Linked DNA regions of Homo sapiens: region 1 is linked to region 2. The links are contacts of gene promoters, found by promoter capture Hi-C in human tissues and cell types (Jung and others, 2019). All regions are on one chromosome and are shown on one strand. Each heading gives the region's core, a stretch centred on a gene start or on the middle of the fragment in contact. The rest is flanking DNA. Distances are from core to core; before and after follow the strand shown. Region 1 overlaps EPHA7 (EPH receptor A7). Region 2 holds the start of EPHA7 (EPH receptor A7).

What was found. Contacts are between HindIII fragments. The study calls those that stand out against the background at their distance.
Region 1: a contact is called between a fragment that was not itself captured here and the fragment with the promoter of EPHA7 in region 2, in 1 of the 25 tissues and cell types used here (thymus).

What each region holds. Positions count from the first base shown.
Region 1 is chr6:93,282,280-93,287,416 of GRCh38, reverse strand. The region is part of intron 5 of EPHA7 (EPH receptor A7); the gene reads left to right. Among named protein-coding and RNA genes, the nearest start is that of EPHA7, 130 kb to the left of the region's middle. The HindIII fragment of the contact is 5,210 bases long and covers 1-4,686 here.
Region 2 is chr6:93,417,035-93,421,518 of GRCh38, reverse strand. EPHA7 (EPH receptor A7) reads left to right here and starts at 1,960. Exons shown (of 17, transcript NM_004440.4): 1 at 1,960-2,274. The coding sequence starts at 2,178. RefSeq lists a silencer at 1,713-1,912. The HindIII fragment of the contact is 11,378 bases long and covers 4-4,484 here.

The DNA of each region.
Region 1 (5,137 bases), core at 832-3,331, 130 kb after region 2:
GGATTGAGAAAAGCACTTCAGTGTGAGTAACCTTATCAATAACTCATTTAATGGAATGAGGTGGACCGAAGCCAGACTAAAGAAGGTTGAAACATGAAAGGAGTTGAGAAATGGAGAAAAAGAATATGGACAATTTTTTTCATATTTGGCTATACAGTGAAGAAAAGAGATTCCCCAGCAGGTGGAAAGAGTTATAGGCTTGAGAAACAATTTTATTTTCATGGGAGAGTTTACACAAAATCTTTCAGGAAGAATCCAATAGATAGGAAGACACTGGCTTATATAAAAGAGTGAAGGTAATTTGTAGTGTCACACCATTATTCGTTTATTTAGCATATACTAAGTGCCAAAAATATGCATGGTGGAGTATTCCTTGTTAGTACTGTGAATCAATTTGAGACTTTTTCAAATAAATATTTCTCAATTATAAAACAGAGAAATTAAATGTTATTGAAAGTCTTTTAAAAAGTACTATATTCATGCTAGTTAACATATTATATATGCCATCTAGTAAATGACTTCTGTCACTGGAAATATGTTTAAATCACCGGATGTGACTGTTTCAGACGCAACCTTTGCCCTGTTCAGGGTCTCCACAGCTGTCTGGTCCTGGAGGGAAAAGCTTCACCTGAAAACTCCCAGATACAAGCAAAAAATATTTTTCTCACCTGCTACCTTTTAAACCTGACAAATGAAGGTTTAATGCTATCATATATAGTCTTCCAAGCCCCAGTTTAAAAACATTATTTTTATCCATGATCTGGTGCCTTCACTTAGGAAATCTGAATCAATTCCTTTGGTTTCTTCTGTTCTATATTCAGAGAAGAAATTAACTGGGGAGCAGGGAGAATCAAGTTAAGTGTGTGATCTCCCTCTCCTCTGCTATTGGGATGATGAAGGTGACAGACACTGCTAGTTTTCTCCCTAATATCTTCTTTCTTCTTATTTACCATATTTTTTAGTGCAGCAGTACAGCCAGATTACATTTTAAAAATCCATTTCCCAGCCTAGGGAATAAGATGCAAACAGAAGATTTCCATAGCTTACTGGAAACTTTGGCTTTCCTAATTCAGGTGCTGAGCATTCGCATTGCTTATTCCTTCTCCATGCCGCAATATAGATGTCATAGGTGTGGTAGCAGCAACAGCCAAGAGGGAAAGGCCATGAGAATCATCTGTATAGCCTTGAACAACTGAATAAAACATAGATGCCCATCTGTAGAATACATTTGTGTGGGGGTGTGTGTGTAGGGTGTGTGTGTGTGTGTGTGTAAGGAAAAACAACAACAATCAAATTACTAGTTTTTTGAGTTTTCTTACTTGAAGCCAAACAGACTGTAACTCAGAGAAAGGCAAACTTTTTCTGAAAAGGGCCAGGTAATAAATATTTCACATCCTGCAGGCCATGTTTTCTGTGTTAGAATTCCCCAGCACTCACATTTTGGCACAGAAGCAGCCAGAGGGAATATGTAAAAAAGGGTGCCGCTGTGTTCCAATGAAACCTTATTTACAAAAACAAGTGGCTAGCCAGATATGGCCCATGGGCCACAGACCCCAGCTCTAACTGAAAAAAGATGAAAGTCAGTACATCATCTACTTTATATTTATATCCTAGTTAGTTTTTGAGTTCGTTATTTCTTGCTGGCTGGAGATTATTTAGGAATAAAGCCGGAACTTCATATGTGGCAAGAGAAGGAGACAGGCAGACAACAAGCAAAAGTTTCTGTCCTTGGCTAAGAGATATCAGAATATGGGGAGAATTCAGGGAGATCTTCATTCCTGTAATTGAAGCAACTGCATCAGTAGAAATAGCAAACACATTTTATTCTTTGTCTTGGTTTTTCTCTTTTGCATAGTTAATAATATTAAAACAGAATTGTTTTCGATTTCTTATCTGTGCAAATTTACAATAGTTTAAGAACATTCTGGGTCAAATACATGTTTGTTGGCTGGCCTAGCAATCTGCTATTTCTGATATTACTTCTGTGTTAACTCCAAATTACAAACAATGAAATTACAAATTAACTTTTGGAGCCAAACTTATTCATAAAATGGTAACTCTCACTCTGTATAACTATTCATTATAAGCCAGATCTTCCCAGTGCAGTGATTCTTGGGTATTAATTAGCTGCGTTAATTTTCTCTTGGTACTAAAATATTATATAGTAAATTAATGCTGCTTTGTAAAACAACAACTTTAAAATAGAAGTTGCAAAGCTAATCAAAATGTATTTAGCAGAAAATATTAAACTTAAGTGCTCAGTTTGTAACAGATTCTTGCAATAAAGTGGTAAATCTTGACTAATATTGAGAACTTATTAAGCAATATGAATTTCTTAAGTTTATGCACTTTTGAGATACAATGTATTCAGAGTACCTGGAGCAATTGAAATGATAAGTTTTTTAACTGTACTTTTTTTTAATTATACTTTAAGTTCTGGGATACATGTGCAGAATGTGCAGGTTTGTTACATAGGTATACACACGCCATGGTGGTTTGCTGCACCCATCAACCCATCATCTACATTACGTATTTCTCCTAATGCTATCCCTCCCCTAGCCCCCCACCCCCCAACAGGCCCTGGTGTGTGATGTTCCCCTCCCTGTGTCCATGTGTTCTCATTGTTCAACTCCCACTTACGAGTGAGAACATGAGGTGTTTGGGTTTCTGTTCTTGTGTTAGTTTTCTGAGAATGATGGTTTCCAGTGTCATCCATGTCCCTGCAAAGGACATGAACCTATCCTTTTTTATGGCTTCATAGTATTCCATTGTGTATATTTAGCACATTTTCTTTATCCAGTCTGTCATTGATGTTGATTGGCATTTGGGTTGGTTCCATGACTTTGCTACTGTGGACAGTGCCACAATAAACATATGTGTGCATATATCTTTATAAATGAGGTAGTATTAATGAGTCTCAAGCCACATTCATTTTCCTTCCTTTTCACTTCCTTCTCCCCCTGCTGCTGCTGATCTTTCTTATTCTTTTCTTTCTCCTTTCTTTCCTGTTTCTTTTCTTCTTCCCCTTGTAGGATAATCCACTTTACAGATCATCACTCTGAGGAACACCAGAATGATGATTTTGAAAAAAAAAAATAAATGAGCAAAGCCACTAACGAGGAAGAATTCTGCAAAAACTAACATTGTTAAATCATGTTTAAGAAAGTCAATTTATGTTTGATATATATGGGTTTTAGGCCTGGAAAACATACAGTCAAAAAATATAGCAGGAAAAAAGGAGAGAAATAAAATAAAAAGATAGAATAAAATAGAAACAACTATGGTACTGATAGCAGCCAAAATATAATGAAATTGATCATTCTCTTCAACCATTATTGAGAACTTTGGGATGGAGTAAATTAATGGTATAATATGGAACTATCAAGCATTTTTGCTGTATGAATTATGTTTTGTATTTTATCAGCTTAAATGAATATCACTTTAAGAATAGGCATACCTTCAATTATATTTTATGTAATATAGTGATTTCCAAAACTTTAAATTGTATTTATAGTAATTAGTAGATGCATATTATATATCTTTATTTTCCTTGATCCATATGCACATAAACATGTGAAGCAAAGGTTCTGTGAAACTATATTACTGTGTCCGGAATTGGGGGGTTCTTGGTCTCACTGACTTCAAGAATGAAGCCGCGGACCCTCGTGGTGAGTGTTACAGTTTTTAAAGGTGGCGTGTCCAGAGTTTGTTTCTTCTGATATTCGGATGTGTTTGGAGTTTCTTCCTTCTGGTGGGCTCCTGGTCTCGCTGGCTTCGGGAGTGAAGCTGCAGACCTTCGCGGTGAGTGTTACAGCTCTTAAGGCAGTGCGTCTGGAGTTGTTCGTTCCTTCTGGTGGGTTCGTGGTCTTGCTGGCTTCAGGAGTGAAGCTGCAGACCTTCGCATTGATTGTTACAGCTCATAAAGGCAATGTGGACCCAAAAGAGTGAGCAGCAGCAAGATTTATCACAAAGAGTGAAAAAGCTTCCACAGTGTGGAAGGGGACCTGAGAGGATTGCCACTGCTGGCTCGGGCAGCCTGCTTTTATTCTCTTATCTGGCCCCACCCACATCCTGCTGATTGGTCTGTTTTACAGAGAGCTGATTGGTCTGTTTTGACAGGGTGCTGATTGGTGTGTTTACAATCCCTGAGCTAGACACAAAAGTTCTCCATGTCCCCACTAGATTAGCTAGATACAGAGTGTCAATTGGTGTATTTACAAACCCTGAGCTAGACACAGAGTGCTGATTGGTGTATTTACAAACCTTGAGCTAGATACAGAGTGCCGATTGGTGCATTCACAATCCCTTAGCTAGACATAAAGGTTCTCCAAGTCCCCACTAGACTCAGGAGCCCAGCTGGCTTCACCCAATGGATCCCGCACCGGGGCCGCAGGTGGAGCTGCCTGCCAGTCCCGCGCCCTGCTCCTGCACTCCTCAGCCCTTGGGTGGTCGATGGGACTAGGCACGGTGGAGAAGGGGGCAGCGCTCCTCGGGGAGGCTCTGGCCATGCAGGAACCCATGGGGAGGGGGACGGAGGAGGCTCAGGCATGGCAGGGTGCAGGTCCTGAGCCCTGCCCTGCAGGGAGGCAGCTAAGGCCGGGGGAGAAATCGACCACAGCAGCTGCTGGCCCAGGTGCTAAGCCCCTCACTGCTCGGGGCTGGCAGGTCCCGCGGCTCTGAGTGAGGGGCCCGCCGAGCCCACGCCCACCGGGAACTCGCGCTGGCCCGCAAGCGCTGTGCGCAGCCCCAGCTCCTGCCTGCCCCTCTCCCTCCACACCTCCCCGCAAGCTGAAGGAGCCGGCTCCAGCCTTGGCCAGCCCAAAAAGGGGCTCCCACAGTGCAGCCGCAGGTCGAAGGGCTCCTCAAGTGTGGCCAGAGTAGGCGCCAAGGCCGAGGAGGCGCCAAGAGTGAGTGAGGGCTGCGAGGGCTGCCAGCATGCTGTCACCTCTCATTACTATCTGCAGTGAACTCAATTTTTATTCTAATTTATTTTTTAAAACTTCGGTTGTAATCCATTCATTGTGTTCACAATAATGAAAAATGCTGGTGTGATGGAAAAGTATTTGGGAAATTATAAACAGTGTAGTCACCTATTAAGCACTCAGTGTTCCGTAATGGAAGTTTTATTTAAATGGAT
Region 2 (4,484 bases), core at 711-3,210:
TAAAGGCCACCTTGGTGTCATTTTAAGAAGTGGGGATGAGACCCTGGGGAAAGTGTTGAAATCCTGGAGAATTCGTTTTAACTATTAGAAGTGGTTTAATATTTGTAAGTTTGTAGTTCTGTGAGTTCTAAAGACTAAGTGCAGGGATTTATGTTTTTAACTCTTATGTTTTAGTTTACAAGTTTCATCCTTAAATCATCTATTTGTGTAAATAAAGCTTCATCTCCTCTATAACAAGTGTGTTCTCCCCATATTTTTTTTTGTCTCTTTCTAAGGTTAATCTATTACGCATTTACATTTTCTATGCATCCTTTAAGGGACACTGAAGATGCTTTTTGATACACTTTCTAAAATATTAAATAGGCATAATGGCTAGGAATATGTAACATTGAAGAAATGTTTCAGAAACTACAGAATCAAAGAGGTTTAAAGAATAAATTTCATATCTCTCTTCCATGTTATTTTATTAGGCAAATAAAAACTACAGGAGACAATTTAACATAAAATACAAATAAATATCTGGGGGTTGTCATCTTAGAGAACTCCCTACTATAAAAAGCAGAAACAACTCAATTTACTTTATATTTCCAGATAGAAAGGTTGGAAAAAGTTTGGAGCCTTATGTGAGATCAAACTTTGGATCTATCGGAAATAAAAGGAAATCATAAATGACTGAGAAATATTTTTAAAGGAAGAAATTATAGGACAAAAAAAGAAATTCATCTTAAACATGTGATCAAGTTACTCTGTGTGACCTTTGAAATTGAAGATTTGGCAATTAAAATTTTAAAGTTCTTCCTCTTATTACCTACCTCTTGAATACAAAGTGTCCGAAACTGCCTAATGGAAAACAGATTTCTCTACGCAGCCTTCCTTGCCGTTCGGGTTGAATGAATTCAACTGGAGATATTGGTTATGACTTTTTTTATTCTTAGTTTCTCTTTGAAAGATAAGCATTGAATAATTCCTGAAAATGGTAAATACTTGCGAAGAGAAAGGTCTTGCTTTATGAATTTAATACGTAGTGGCATTCTTTAAAATTCAGTGTAATTTATGCAGCGAAATGGAAAACTATCAAAGTGGAGGCAATCCAAGGAAAACCTTAGAAAATGATAAACGCGTAAAAAAACGATACGCAACCATCAGAAGGTTCTCTCCTAATGTCTCACTTCGCTCAACAAACTATGGTGAAAAGACAGGGCGGAGGAGAAGGGGCGCTTAAAACAAAAGACTTCCTTTCCCACTCCCTTTTCCTCTGTTTCTTTTGCCAGAGCTTGTTGCAAACTCTTGGAAACATTGTTTAAACATAATACACTTGGTTACTTTATTCTTTCAGGGATTGTGGTGGGTGGTACCTAAAACTGACGGCTCTTGGAGTAACAGAAAAAGAGAAGTAGAAACTTTTCAAAAAGGCAAAAAACAAAGTTACCCAGCCCGCGGAGGTTCTAACAACAAAAAAGTAAAACACACTTTACTTAAAGGCACAGCTCATTTCACTGTCCGGGCTCCGTGCTTGGTAGCTGAGAGAAGGCTTGCTTCGCCTCTGGTTTCTAAAAGATCGCGCGGAGTACAGCTATAGAAAAGAGTGTAAGTTGGGAGCGTTATTCTCGGATTTATTCTGCTACGCGAAAGCTGCGGTTGCTAAAAGCAGAGCGTCCAAAGCAGCACACACCTCGGCTACCATCCTCGTTCTCCTCTGAACATCCAGCGCGAGCTCAGAACCTGGAGGGAATCCTGGACCAGCAACCTGACTCCGCTCGGCACCGATTGGCTCCTGCCTCGGACCCCGCCCCCGTGGCCGGGGCGGCCATTTCGCCGGGACCCGCCCCTTGGCCCTGGGAATCGCCTCCTGGCAGGCCGGCTGTGCCTGCCACTCAGCCCGAGTGGCGGAGGCTCTCAGCTCGGAGCCCCGCCCCCTCCCCCCCTAATTGATATTATTGGAGTGTGGAGCAAGCGGCCGGTCTGCAGTCGGAGACTTGCAGGCAGCAAACACGGTGCGAGCGAACAGGAGTGGGGGGGAAATTAAAAAAAGCTAAACGTGGAGCAGCCGATCGGGGACCGAGAAGGGGAATCGATGCAAGGAGCACAATAAAACAAAAGCTACTTCGGAACAAACAGCATTTAAAAATCCACGACTCAAGATAACTGAAACCTAAAATAAAACCTGCTCATGCACCATGGTTTTTCAAACTCGGTACCCTTCATGGATTATTTTATGCTACATCTGGCTGCTCCGCTTTGCACACACAGGGGAGGCGCAGGCTGCGAAGGAAGGTAAGGTGATGGGAAAGCAAAGTTTGTTCTGACTTATTTATTTAGATGTCTACCTGCACAAGCCAGCTCGTCCGCGGCGCTGCCGGCCGCGCCTCCGGCGCCGGGCGACCCTCCCCCGCCGGCTCCCCGCCCCCTCACCGCTGAGGCCGCTCCTGGCGGACCAGCGAGCGCGAACCAGGGCTGTTCCGAGCCGCCTACAGCCCTGTGCCCGGAGCCGTCCATCCGACGGGTGCGGGATTTCTGGCGCGGGCAGTCTGGAGGGCGTGAGCAGCAACGGGGGTGGGGTGGGGTTGGAGGAACTGCCGGCGAGCTTATTTCTTAGTACCTCAGGCGGGTCACATCTCTCTCTAGCTCGGTCTTCCTTGTCTCCTTATTCGCCTTCTGTGGGAGCTGCGGCCAGAGTTGGGTTGGAGACTGGGAAATGCAGCCCCTACCGTCTCCGCCAGCCCGCCGGCGAGTGGCGGGAGCCCGGAGCCTTCCCAGAGGGACCGAGACTTCGATGAGCTCGGAAAGCTCGGGTTACTAATGAAGTGCTCACTGCGTCGGAGGCGGCGGCGCGGTCCTGCGGTTGGCGCTCGGCCGCCAGCACGGAACAATAACGCCGCGGAGGTGAAGCGCGGCGTGCGGCGCGCGACCCGAGGGCCGGGGATGTCTCCATTCAGCGCGCGCTGCGCGTCGGGCCCAGCGGTCATGGGGGCAGCGGCAGCCCAGCGGGCTTGGTCGGGCCGTGGAGGCAGGGGGCGGGCTGGAGCTGTGCAATTTGTAAGGATGCCGCCTGGGCGACTCAAAGTCCCCAATTATTTGCCCCATAGTGCAGCAATTGAGGAATCCGAGTGCCCAATCCTTGCCAAAGACCTGAACCCTGAGGGTTGGTTCTGGTAGGAGAAGGCAGGTTTTATTTGGCAAGCTGTTACAGATACGCCTGTATATGGTTATGTTTTCCTTCTTTGAACCTTTGACAGAAGGTAAAATACCTTTCGGTGCCTGTAGTTGGAGCTGGGGAAAAATAAACCCTGTCAATGGAAGTCTCTTGCTTTTGAGCAGTGTCACAATCCCATCCCCAACCCCCCTCATCCCGTCGCCCCCCTGGTCTTTCAGGCTGTGTATCTAAGTTTCATTTTTCGATCTGTTAAAAGCAGAAGAGAAATAATTACTTATTCCTGATGTGTAGAGGGAGAGGAATCTGTTATGAAATTTAGGTCATGGTGGTTATCGGGCGGGGTGTTGAGGGGACTTACATATAGGTCCTTGATTCATCTATTTCTGAAAACTTAGTGCACCTTTTCTTTATTCTCATCGTGCACTCCTCTTAGTTCGCTCAAGCCCCCCTCAAACCCGGCGCCAAATTCTAGTCCTTCTTTCAGCCTGACCTTCTGACCCCACTTTCCACATCTGCAACCTGTATAGATGCTGAACCCATTCAGAGAACCCCGTGCCTCCAAGCTGGCGGTTACGCGTTTGCAGAAGGACGGACATCTGCTAGAAACGCACGCTCATCCCCTCCAAAACCACATTTCTACTCCCCTGACGTTAGCGATCAGAAACCTTCAGCCCTGGCATACTGTGATTCCTCTGGAATAGCGGACCAGAGGAAAAGTTTGCACCGCCGCGGCGAAACCCCGCGCGCGAACACACGCAGACTCGGGCTGGAGTTTGGGCTATAAATAACTGCATCACTAGGGGGAGAGGTTCCTGCAGCCAGAATGTCTAGTTCTCTTTGCTCTTCTGGGTGCAAGCTACGTGAAGAGGATTCTGATTCTAAGAGCCTGAATTCTTTAGATGCAGAAGTGTGATGTATAAAAGGCGCGGGGGTGATGGGAGGGAGGGTGGTGATCTGTGGCTGGCGGGCGGCGAGTGCGCCCGGCTTCTAGGCGGCGACGCCTCTAGGGCGCAGCGGCGACCAAGAGCTGGCGTTCTAGGAGTTCACAAGCCCCGAGGCGGCCCGCAGTACCCAAGGGCTAGCGCTGGGAACCGCTTGAAGCAGGTGCCGGGCCTCCTGGGGCATTTGGGGGTGGCTAGAGGAAGATAAGAAACCCCCTTCCCTCACTTTCCTTGTGCACGTTCTCTCGGGTTGGTCAGTTATCATCGCTACAGGGAGCGCGTGTCAGAGTCTGACGCTTGAAGGCAAAGTGCAGCTGCTTACTTTTTCTCTCCGTAAATGCCGCCGCCGCCGCCGCCTCTTCCTCAGAGGAGATGCTTCCCGAAAGCCA